Linked DNA regions of Homo sapiens: regions 2 and 3 are each linked to region 1. Evidence: promoter capture Hi-C in human tissues and cell types (Jung and others, 2019). All regions are on one chromosome and are shown on one strand. Each heading gives the region's core, a stretch centred on a gene start or on the middle of the fragment in contact. The rest is flanking DNA. Distances are from core to core; before and after follow the strand shown.

Evidence for each region. Contacts are between HindIII fragments. The study calls those that stand out against the background at their distance.
Region 2: a fragment that was not itself captured here is called in contact with the fragment with the promoter of MED9 in region 1 in 1 of the 25 tissues and cell types used here (liver).
Region 3: a fragment that was not itself captured here is called in contact with the fragment with the promoter of MED9 in region 1 in 4 of the 25 tissues and cell types used here (IMR-90 fibroblasts, liver, lymphoblastoid cells and 1 more).

What each region holds. Positions count from the first base shown.
Region 1 is chr17:17,475,049-17,479,157 of GRCh38, forward strand. It overlaps MED9 (mediator complex subunit 9), which reads left to right and starts at 1,952. Exons shown (of 2, transcript NM_018019.3): 1 at 1,952-2,217. The coding sequence starts at 1,994. RefSeq lists an enhancer at 1,956-2,055. The HindIII fragment of the contact is 13,264 bases long and covers 1-4,109 here.
Region 2 is chr17:17,338,210-17,342,318 of GRCh38, forward strand. All of the region lies in intron 3 of NT5M (5',3'-nucleotidase, mitochondrial), which reads left to right. Among named protein-coding and RNA genes, the nearest start is that of NT5M, 37 kb to the left of the region's middle. The HindIII fragment of the contact is 7,733 bases long and covers 1-4,109 here.
Region 3 is chr17:17,608,415-17,612,523 of GRCh38, forward strand. No RefSeq gene overlaps it. Among named protein-coding and RNA genes, the nearest start is that of PEMT, 19 kb to the left of the region's middle. The HindIII fragment of the contact is 8,912 bases long and covers 1-4,109 here.

The DNA of each region.
Region 1 (4,109 bases), core at 702-3,201:
AAGTCTCTTTAGTGTTGGTTAAGATCATAGACTTGGCATCAGCAACTGCGTTGACCCTTAGGCTGGGATCTTAACCATTGTAAGTCTTGGTTTTCTCATCTAGAAAATGGGGATCCTGACATCCATCTTCTAGACCTCTGTCTGTGGATTGAGACAGTGACTGTAACTCTGTTCCCTGTATCTACTTTTACTCCATGGTAGTTGTGGTAATTACTATTATTATTACTATTACTATATCATCTTTCCCCAGATGACTCCAAGGGTATACAGTCTCTTCAAGCACATCTGGCCTTTTTCTCCTCCATGCTCAACCAGAACTCTTGAACTTTCCCTTAGTTGGAGAGGTCAATGGTTAGAAGGAAGAAAACTCCGCAACCCACTCCCTCCCTTTGCTCTCTCTCTGGGGCACCGTGGGCAGCTCTTGCTGCAGAGAGCTGTGCTGAGGCCCTTTACTACAGAACCTGTACAGCGCACCCTCCAACAGCACTTCCATCTATGGTCCTACTCCCCAAGGATCTGCCTCCGCACAGCCCTCCCAATGTGCCTGAAAATATCAGCATTGATCCTTTCCCTGGCCACCTTGCTCTTAAGGCTCCTGTTCATCATGCTATGTGGATGTGGACCTCCTCGCCTCTCTGTACTGCCCATGATGGTGGATTACAGCAGAATGGGCTCACCAGTTGACAGCTTTCCCCACTCATGTCTTCTACTCACTAGCTAAGCTTGGGGTGGGTGTCCCCATTGCCCGGAAAATTACTACACAGCCCTCATATCAAACTTGTTTTGAGAAGCATAACCATAAACCCATCTTTGGCCTATGATCCTAGGGAGTCCTCATGCCAACAAGACCTTTTGGGGTCAGCCACGCATGTGAAGTTAGAATGCAGTTTAGGCTGTGCCATGAATCTGAACTAAATATGATTTTAGGGGTGAGGAAACTGGGACCTAGGGGCTTGGGGAACTGGCCCGAAGGTATGGAGAGTACCTGACCTTGTCGTTCTTCCAGGATATGATATTTACTCCTGGCACCAATCCCCTCTACCTTGTACTGAAAGCAAGGACAGCCTGCCTGCAACCACACATACAGGTGGCCATCCAGCAGGTGCATACTAAATGTGTGTTGAGTTGAATTATTAGACTCTTTCTAAGCAACCTTGCAGCATTGAAGGGACCGCAATCCCTTTGCCTCTGCGTCCTTAGGGCTAAACTCGAGGTCTCGATGTCTTGCACTGTGGGCTGGGCCGGGTTTGGTGCCTCACCCAGCAGGTAAGTGCTGTCTACGCCTCCCACAGGTCCAGTGGCTCCTCTCCAGACTTGGGTGCACTGGGCCAGGCTGCACCTTACTAATCTCAAGGCTTCCTGTGTTTGTGGCTTTGGGGCCCTCTTCATCGTGTGAATAGGAATAAGAAGATTGTTATTTCTGGCCGGGTGCAGTGGCTCACGCCTGTAATCCCAGCACTTTGGGAGGCCGAGACGGGCGGATCACCTGAGGTGGGGAGTTCGAGACCAGCCTGATCAACATGGAGAAACCCCGTCTCTACTAAAAATATAAAATTAGCCGGGCGTGGTGGTGCATGCCTGTAATCCCAGCTACTAGGGAGGCTGAGGCAGGAGAATCGCTTGAACCCGGGAGGCGGAGGTTGCGGTGAGCCGAGATCGCGCCACTGCACTCCAGCCTGGGCAACAAGAGCGAAATTCCGTCTCAAAAAAAAAAAAAAGATTGTTATTTCTGAAATAAACCCCTATTTCTCACTATTTAATAATTTAGCAATCTTGACTCACAATCCAAATCCAGGCACCCCAGACCCACCCACGGCCCGTTGCCTAGCAACAGCCTCCCCACCCCCGCCTCCGCGCCTTTTCCCGCCGACTGCCCAGTGCGCACGCTCAGAGCCTTCCTCCACACCCCGCCCCTGCAGGGCGCGCGGTGGTGACGTGTAGAGTGCGCGACGCTTTTGGCGACCCGACCTCTGGCTAACCTACCCCCGGAGCCATGGCCTCTGCTGGGGTGGCAGCCGGGCGACAGGCGGAGGATGTATTGCCGCCAACGTCCGACCAGCCGCTGCCTGACACCAAGCCGCTGCCGCCTCCTCAGCCGCCGCCGGTCCCTGCGCCTCAACCGCAGCAGTCGCCGGCGCCACGGCCTCAGTCACCTGCCCGCGCGAGGGAGGAAGAGAACTACTCCTTTTTACCTTTGGTTCACAACATCATCAAATGGTAAGAACCTAGGAGAGGACCAGGCCCCATACTCCCTCCAGCTTCTCCTCTCAGCCGTTTCAGAGCTGCAAGAGGCCTTGGCGCTCTGGGGCACGCCCCCGTTTCACAGATGGGGAAACTCAGACCCAGAGCGGGAAGAGGCCTTTCCCAAGACCACAGAGACATTCCATGAGTTAAGCAAACGATTTGAGCCTCGAGAGGTGCGATATCCTTAAGAATGAAGCCAGCTTAGAGACTAAATGCAGACTCTTGTCCAGCGGCTCAAATGTTCATCCCAGCGATCTTGAGCAAATTAAATCTCTTTAAGCCTCAGTTTTCTCACCTTTAATGTTGGTAATACTCACTTTAGTTCCTTAGTTCAGCAAACTCAACAGATAAGCATCATCTTCCCTGTGCCAAGTGCTACGGGATGGACGCAGTAAAAGGGGCCAACTTTTCACCCCCAAAGGTTTAGATAGAAGGAAAAAAAGACATGATTGGGAATAACCCACAATTCAAAAAGATTGAGACGGGAGTGGTGGCGATGGGAAACATTAGACTAAGCAGAAACACAGAAGTTGCCTCAGATGATTAGACCCACTTGTACTGACTTTGTTCTAACAGTACCAAAGGAAATAATTGTTGTCATCCTTTTGGCCAGCCTTCAGGGTAGCCTGAGTTTTCAAAGTGACTCTGTAGAGGAAAAACCAAAAACAAAAACACAAAAGTCTCACTGATCCTTATGTTTGCCTAAATTATTATTTTTTTTGAGAGAGGGTCTCGCTCTGTCACCCAGACTGGAGTACAGTGGCGTGATCTCGGCTCACTGCAGCCTCAACCTCCTGGCCTCAAGCCATCCTCCCACCTCATCCTCCCAAGTAACCGGAACCACAGGCATGAGCCATGGCACCCAGCGAATTTTTGTATTTTTTGTAGAGATGGAGTTTCACCATGTTGCCCAGGCTGTAAATTATTTTCATTATGTTACTTCACTGTATATCCACGTGATACTAGGTGTAAACCCCTAGGCTTGTAACTCTTACTCAACCATTAAAGACCAAAACAAAGTAAATTAAAAGAAAATTACGATTCCAGTAACATTCAGGTGAACATGAATGTGCTCTTCACTGTTTTACTGAAATGGAATTGTTACAACGTGAAGGTCTTGACTGTTAGTGGCCCACCCACTTTTGAGTTTAAGCAAATTAGATTCACTTGCTGTGGGATGACCTGATGCTCTTCTGCCACTTTTCAAATAACTACAAAGGCTTTGTTCTCACATTAGACCCTGGCTTCATTTGGTTTCACTTGGTGTTTAAATACTGTTTATAGGGGCCAGGCATGGTGTCTCATGCCTGTAATCCCAGCACTTTGGGAGGCCAAGGCGGGCGGATCACGAGGTCAGAGTTTGAGACCAGCCTCGTCGACATGGCAAAACCCCATCTCTACTAAAAACACAAAAATTAGCCGGGTGTGGTGGCGGCTGCCTGTAATCCCAGCTACTCAGGAGGCTGAGGCAGGAGAATCACTTGAACCCGGGAGGTGGAGGTTGCAGTGAGCCGAGATCATGCCATTGCACTCCAGCCTGGGCAACAAGAGCAAGACTCTGCCTCAAAAAAAAAAAAAAAGTAATGCTTATAGGATAAGGCAGCCTATTCAGTTTTCGTGAGCCTGTGATAATGATCATAGACAGAAATACATATGGAGCCCCTGTAATCCTAGGGCAGTGCTGGATTATAAAGGGTTTATTCTGATTAACCCTAGTTTACTGGTTTTAAGAAAAATGTGGAAAAATGAAAACACAAAATGTACACATTCACAAGGACAGCTCTTGAACTCCCCAAGAGTATATTCTTGAGCCCTGGTAGAGCAGCTGGGTTGGGTTGGCCTTAAAAGATGTAGTAGTAAGTTAT
Region 2 (4,109 bases), core at 831-3,330, 140 kb before region 1:
TGAGACGGAGTCTTACTCTGTCGCCCAGGCGGGAGTACAATGGCACCATCTCGGCTCACTGCAATGTCCGTCTCCCGGGTTCAAGTGATTCTCCTGCCTCAGCCTCTGGAGTAGCTGGGACTACAGGCATGTGCCACCATGCCCAGCTAATTTTTGTATTTTTAGTAGAGATGGGGTTTCACCACGTTAGCCAGGCTGGTCTTGAACTCCTGACCTCACGCTATCCGCCCGCCTCGGCCTCCCAAAGTGCTGGGATTTCAGGCATGAGCCACTGCGCCTGGCCTGGTTCTGTATTCTTATCCACTGATCTGTGTGTCTGTTTTTATGCCAGTAACATGCCATTTGGACTACTGTAGCTTTGTAGTATCATTTAAAGTCAGATAATGTGATTTTTCCAGTTTTGTTCCTTTTGCTTAGGATAGCTCTGGCTATTCTGGAATTTTTGTGGTTCTATGTAAATGTTAAGGGTTTTTTTTTTTTTTTTTTTTTTGTATTTCTGTGAAGAATGTCATTGGTATTTTTTTTTTTTTTTTTTGAGATGGAGTCTTACTCTGTCACCCAAGCTGGAGTGCAGTGGCGCGATCTCGGCTCACTGCAAGCTCCACCTCCCAGGTTCACACCGTTCTCCTGCCTCAGCCTCCCAAGTAGCTGGGACTACAGGCGCCCGCCACCACGCCCAGCTAATTTTTTGTATTTTTTAGTAGAGACGGGGTTTCACTGTGTTAGCCAGGATGGTCTCGATTTCCTGACCTCGTGATCTGCCTGCCTCGGCCTCCCGAAGTGCTAGGATTACAGGCGTGAGCCACCGCACCTGGCCTGTCATTGGTATTTTAATAGGGATTGCATTAAATCTGTAAATTGCTTTGGGTAGTATGAACATTTTAACTATATTTATTCTTCTAATCCATGGACATGGAATGAGTATCTTTCCACTTTTTGTGTCTTCAATTTATTCTATCAGTGTTTTATAGTTTACAGTGTAGAGCTCTTTCACTTGGGTTAATTCTTAGGTATTTTATTTTATTTGTAGCTATTTTAAATGGGATTCCTTTCTTAATTTTTTTTCAGATTGTTCCTGTTTTTTTCAGGATTGTTCCTGTTTTTTTCAGATTTTGTATCCTGCAACTTTGCTGACTTTATCAGTTCTAGTAGTTTTTTGGTGGAATCTTTAGGTTTTTCCAAATATAAGATCATGTCATCTGCAAACAAGGATAATTTGACTTCTAATCCTTTCTAATTTGGATGCTCTTTCTTTCTTTCTCTTGTCTGATTGCTCTAGCGAGGACTTCCAGTACTATGTTGAATCACAGTGGTGAAAGTAGGCATTCTTGTCATGTTCCCGGTCTTAGAGGAAAGGCTTTCAGTTTTTCCCCATTCAGTATGATACTAGCCATATATAGGTCTGTCATATATGGCTTTTATTATGTTGAGGTATGTTCCTTCCATACCCAGTTTTTTGAGGGTTTTTATCATGAAAGGATATTGAATTTTATCAAATACCTTTTCAGCACCAATTGAAATAATCATATGTTTTTTGTCCTTCATTCTGTTGATATGATATATCACATTAATTGATTTGCATTTGCTGAACTATCCTGGAATCCCTGGGATAAGTCCCACTTGGTCATGCTGGATGATCTTTTTAATGTGTTGTTGAATTCAATTTGCTAATCTTTTGTTGAGGATTTTAGGAATCAATATTTATCAATGATATTGGCCTATAGTTTTCTTTTCTTTTTTTCAATGTGTTTTTGTCTGGTTTTGGTATCACGGTGATACTGGCTTCATAGAATGAGTTTGGAAGTATTCCTTCCTTCTGTATATTTCTGAATAGTTTAAGTAGGATTGGTATTAGTTATTTAAGTGTTTGGTAGAATTCAGCAGTGAAGCTATTGGGTCCCGGCCTTTTCTTTGCTGGGAGACTTTTTATTATGGCTTCAGTTGTTGTTACTTGTTATTGGTCTGTTTGTTTTGAATTTCTTCATGGTTCAATCTTGGTAGATTGCATGTATCTAGGAATTTGTCCATTTCCTCTAGATTTTCTAATGTATTGGCATGTAGTTGCCCATAGTAGCCACCGATGATTGTTTAAATTTCTGTAATATCAGTTGTAGTGTTTCCTTTGTCATCTCTGATTTTATTTATTTGGGTCTTCTCTCTTTTTTTCTTAGTCTGGCTAAAGGTTTGTCATTTTGTTTACCTTTCCAAAAAACCAACTTTTTGTTTCTTTTCACAAAACCAATCTTTTGTATTTTTTTTATTTCATATTCATTTATTTCTGCTCTGATTTTTGTTATTTCTTTTCTTTCCTTTCTTTTCTTTTTTTTTTAATTTTGAGATGGAGCCTTGCTCTGTCGCCCAGGCTGGAGTGCAGTGGCACAATCTCGGCTCACTGCAACCTCTGCCTCCTGGGTTCAAGCGATTCTCCTGCCTTAGCCTCTCGAGTAGCTGGGACTACAGGTAGGTGCCACCATGCCCAGCTTATTTTTGTTTTTTTAGTAGAGATGGGGTTTCACCATGTTGGCCAGGCTGGTCTTGATCTCCTGACCTTGTGATCTGCCCGCCTTGGCCTCTCAAAGTGCTGGGATTACAGTGTGAGCCACCGCGCCCGGCCTGCTCTTGTTTTTCTGTTTCTTTAGGATGCATCATTAAGTTGTTTACTTGAAGTTTTTCTTCTTCTTTTTTTATTTTTTTTAAATTCAGGCCCCCACAGAAGCATTTTCTTCTTTTTTGATGTGGCACTTATAGCTATAAACTTCCCTCTTAGTACTGCTTTTGCTGCATCCCATAGGTTTTGGTATGTTGTACTTCCATTATCATGTGTTTCAATAAATTTTTCAATTTCCTTCATTTCTTCATTGACCCACTTCATTCAGGAGCATGTTGTTTAATGTCTCTGTGTTTGTATAGTTTCCAGAATTCCTCATTATTGATTTCTAGTTTTATTCCAAAAATACATGTGATTTTTTTATATTGACCTTGTATCCTGTTAGTTTGCCAAATTAACAGTTCTAGTTGCTTTATGTAGATGATTTGGGGCTATGAAAGTCTAGTTATAATAATTACATTTATTTAGTACGTCTGTATCAGGCATTACTCAGGTGTCCTCACAGTTTTTTATTTGATCATACCAGCAACACTGTGAGGAAACTGACCTCACAGTGGAAGTCACTGGCTTGCCCAAGGTCCCCAGCTCGTATGTATCAGAACCAGACTTAGGGCCTAATTTTGAGGGTAAGACAAAAAGGTAGAATCCTTTTTCTGAAGACTTTCTGTGTGCCAGGTGCAGTACTGAGACTCTGATGCATAATTTTCCACTAAATCCCCGAAGGCACTCACGAGGTAGATGCTGTCCTTATCCCTGTGTCACCACACAGGGACCAGACAACCTGCTGAGGGATAGAGATACTCACGTGAGAAGCTGGTGGTATCTATGCGCAGTGGCCACATAAGTGCTCATGGCTGGGCTCCAGGAGGCTCAGGGGGAACCCCATGCCCTCTTCTATTTTTACCTCTTACCATATATAAAATTTAACCCTGGCTGGGTGCAGTGGGTCATGCCTGTAATCCCAGCACTTTGGGAGGCCACGGTGGGCGGATCACAAGGTCAGGAGTTTGAGACCAGCCTGGCCAACGTGGTGAAACCCCGTTTCTACTAAAAATACAAAGAACTTAGCCAGGCATGGTGGCAGGCGCCTGTGATCCCAGCTACTTGGGAAGCTGGGGCAGGAGAATCACTTGAACCTGGGAGGTGGAGGTTGCAGTGAGCCGAGATCGTGCCATTGCACTCCAGCCTGGGCGACAGCAAGACTCTGTCTCAAAAAAAAGAAAAAAAAAAATTAACCCCAAATGGGTTAAATACATATAAATACATATATACATATAAAAGCTAAAAGTATAAAACTTCTGCTCTTCAAAAGGCACTGTTCAGAAAATGAAAAGACAAATCACAGATCATGAAAAAATATTTGCAAAATGCATTGTCTGATAAAGGACTGGTTTCTAGAATACATTAACTACTCTCACAACTCAATACAAACAGCCCACTTTGTTTTGCCGTTTATGTGACCCCTGATAAGTCACAGACCCTCTCTGAGCCTCCATTTCTT
Region 3 (4,109 bases), core at 1,176-3,675, 130 kb after region 1:
TTGATTGTCACAGCTGGGTGGGGATGGGGGTGCTATGGACATCTAGTGGGTAGAGGCCAAGGAAGCTGCTAAAAGTCTACAATGTGCAGGGGCCGGTCGCGGTGGCTCACGCCTGTAATCCCAGCACTTTGGGTGGCCAAGGCGGGTGGATCACGAGGTCAGGAGATCGAGACCATCCTGGCTAACACAGTGAAACTCCGTCTCTACTGAAAATACAAAAAATTAGCTGGGTGAGGTGGTGGGCGCCTGTAGTCACAGCTACTCGGGAGGCTGAGGCAGGAGAATGACATGAACCTGGGGGGTGGAGCCTGCAGTGAGCTGAGATCACACCACTGTACTCCAGCCTGGGTGACAGAGCAAGACTCCATCTCAAAAAAAAAAAAAAAAAAAAAAAAAAATTCTACAATGTGCAGGACAGCCCTCACAACCAACAATTATCCAACCCAAAATAGAACAGTGCCAAGGCTGAGAAACTGTCCAAATTATAGGTGGAAATATAGTTGTGTGTGTGTGTTTCGGCATTAGAGGGCATTCCCGGGCCTAGGTGGGCTCTGGAGATGGCCCATGCTCAGGTTTTTATGCCGGGAAGGTGCAGGTGCATGGAGGACATTGGCCAGCTGGGCTGTGAGGAGGAGCTGTAGGCAGGTGCTTGCAGAGATGAAGAAGGGAGCCCTCGGTCTGGCTGAATCCCTGGATGGATCATGGGGCCTGTGGGCTCCTCAAGGGGAGGAGACCTGCCCTCCCTTGAATCCAAGCTGGGAGATGGTGGTGCCTCCCAGGAGGGTAAGTGGGCACCTCGCTGCCTTCCACCTCTGAAGGGCCAAGTGGTGCCCAGGATATCCATGTTTTGGCTTCTTCCTGGGCACATGTGGAGACTCCATTTCCCAGGGCCCCTTGCAGGTAGGTGTGGCCACATGACAGGTTCCAGCCAATGGAGTGTGATAGGAAGTAATGTCACCACTCCAGGCCTGGCCATGGAATTCTCGCACCACCCAGGCTCTCTCCTTCCCAGTAGTATCCTAGCTGAGCCAGAGGACGCTGAAGGCCTACAGGGCAGCAGAGCCACAGACGGAAGGAGCCTGGGTGCTTGAGTGACTATGCAGCCTCCCCGGCCTGCCATCCCGTCTGGTTGGACTGTGACATGAAACAGATGTGAAATAGATCTTCATCGTGTAGAGCCGTGGGCCTTCGAGCTTTACTTGTTACAGCAACTAATTTTATTTAACTAATACTGGTGGGTCAGCAGGAACGTCCAAGGTGAAAGACAAAATTCCCCTTCAGTTTTTCAGGGCTGTTTAACTCCTAAGATCCAGGGCTGATCCTTAATTATTCCACCCTCCTCGCCCACCCCATTCTCCATTAGACTCTTGTAGTTTTTGCCAACCTTGGCAAGTGGGGCCTTGAGTAGGCCTTAATTTGATCCTTAAAAGTAAAGGGATTTCTTCCACCCTGAGAGTTGTGTGATAGTTTGTACCAGTTACAAAATTTGTGTTCTTTTTCTTGATGGACTGTGAGCCCCTTGAGGGGAAGGCCTGGGCCTGATTTGCGGATGTCACAAAGGCCCAGTAGTGGGCTGGGTAGGCAGCAATCTTGAGGAACTATTTGTGGAAATCTCTGAGCATGTGATGCCCCTGATTGGCCAGATCATTCTGCCTTTATGGTGTTTGGTATGGTTGTTTTTTTTTTTTGAGACCCGGGTCTCACTCTGTTGCCCAGGCTGGAATACAGTGGTGCAGTCACAGCTCTCTATAGCCTCCACCTCCTAGGCTCAAGCACTTCTCCCAACTCATCTTGGAATACAGTGGTGCAGTCACAGCTCTCTATAGCCTCCACCTCCTAGGCTCAAGCACTTCTCCCAACTCATCTGGGACTACAGGCATGCACCACCATGCACAGCTAATATTCTTATTTTTTTTTATAGAGATGGGAGTCTCGCTATGATGCCCAGGCTGGTCTCGAACTCCCGAGCTCAAGTGATCTGACCTCCCAAAGTGCTGGAATTACAGGCATGAGCCACCGCGCCCTGTCTTCCTTTGTTTGTGTTGATTACGAATACATTCACTTGCAAAAAATAACAAAAAAAACCCCCAGAAAATCCGATCAACAGAGACGTAAACAAATAGGTGTTTCGTTGTGTGTGTGTTTTTTTGTTTTTTTTTGTTTTTCATGGAACACAAGCTCGAAGCAGGCAGTTGCAAGCATGAGGGAACTTGACTTTGCCATCCCTATACTGACCTTTTTATTCTGATGCTTCGGCCTCATAGGCACAAGATGGCTGCCATAGCTCTAATCATCACACTGGGGCTCGAGGCAAGCAAAGGTGAGAGAAATGTCTAGGGCCATGCTAACTGTATCTGTCTCTTCATCAGGGCAGCAAAAGCTTTTCCAGAAATCCCCCCAGCAGACTTCCACTTTAAGAGTGATTGGCCTGAATTGGGTCAAATGTCTAGTACAAGAGGCTAGGAAGTTAAAACAGTCATGATTGGCTTAGAACACTGATTCACAAATGAATCTGTAGGGGTGGGTTGCCCCTCCACACCTGTGGGTGTTTCTCGTAAGGTGGAACGAGAGACTTAGGAAAGAAAAAGACACAGAGACAAAGTGTAGAGAAAGAAATAAGGGGACCCGGGGAACCAGCGTTCAGCATATGGAGGATCCCGCCAGCCTCTGAGTTCCCTTAGTATTTATTGATCATTCGTGGGTGTTTCTCCGAGAGGGGGATGTGTCAGGGTCACAAAACAATAGTGGGGAGAGGGTCAGCAGACAAACACGTGAACAAAGGTCTTTGCATCATAGACAAGGTAAAGGATTAAGTGCTGTGCTTTTAGATGTGCATACACATAAACATCTCAATGCTTTACAAAGCAGTATTGCTGCCCGCAGGTCCCACCTCCAGCCCTAAGGCGGTTTTTCCCTATCTCAGTAGATGGAGCATACAATCGGGTTTTATACCGAGACATTCCATTGCCCAGGGACGGGCAGGAGACAGATGCCTTCCTCTTGTCTCAACTGCAAGAGGCATGCCTTCCTCTTATACTAATCCTCCTCAGCACAGACCCTTGCTGTCGGGCTGGGGGACGGTCAGGTCTTTCTCTTCCCACGAGGCCATATTTCAGACTGTCACATGGGGAGAAACCTTGGACAATACCTGGCTTTCCTAGGCAGAGGTCCCTGCGGCCTTCCGCAGTTTTTGTGTCCCTGGGTACTTGAGATTAGGGAGTGGTGATGACTCTTAAGGAGCATGCTGCCTTCAAGCATTTGTTTAACAAAGCACATCTTGCACCGCCCTTAATCCATTTAACCCTGAGTTTGACACAGCACATGTTTCAGAGAGCACGGGGTTGGGGGTAAGGTCATAGAATCTCAAGGCAGAAGAATTTTTCTTAGTACATAACAAAATGGAGTCTCCCATGTCTACTTCTTTCTACACAGACACAGTAACAATCTGATCTCTCTTGCTTTTCCCCACATGAATCTTTTTTTTTTTTTTAAGCACAAAGGGAATAGGTATTAGGAAAGCAACCAATAGTGTCTGCCTTGATTTCCAGTCCTGTATCTGGGGCTTCTGCCAAAAGTCCTTTCTCCTAGGGCCAAGAGGGCCCAGGCCCGTCTTCTCGAGGCTACCACACCTGGTTTTCCCCATACCTGAGAGTATGTGAGGATAAAACAGCAGAGCATCCAAGGGTCTGTTGCCCACCCTCCCACCTTGCCTGCTGCCCTGTCCTGGTGCTTCTCAGGAAGCCTTCGGGGTACCCACCACACCTTGTCCCCATGCCCTTTCCCAGTAGACACCATCCCAGCCACTCTGATGAAGCTGGACTCTGTCCCCAGGAGATGGAAAGTGAGCCACTCTCCCAGCAGAGGCACAGGGTCAGTGTGTTCTGCAGAATAAACACAGTATTCCTAGTTACTCTCATCTGAGAAGCTGCCACATCTCCCTAAACCCCTGGCCTTCCCACATGATCTGAAAATAACCACTGATACTCACATATAGAATCCAGAATTCCGAGGAAATGGAATTAAAAATAGCCAGAGGAAGAAGGACGTGCCCCAGGCAGATGACGTTTAGCCAAACATGGAAACAAAGGATGAGCCTGGGGCCTGGGAAC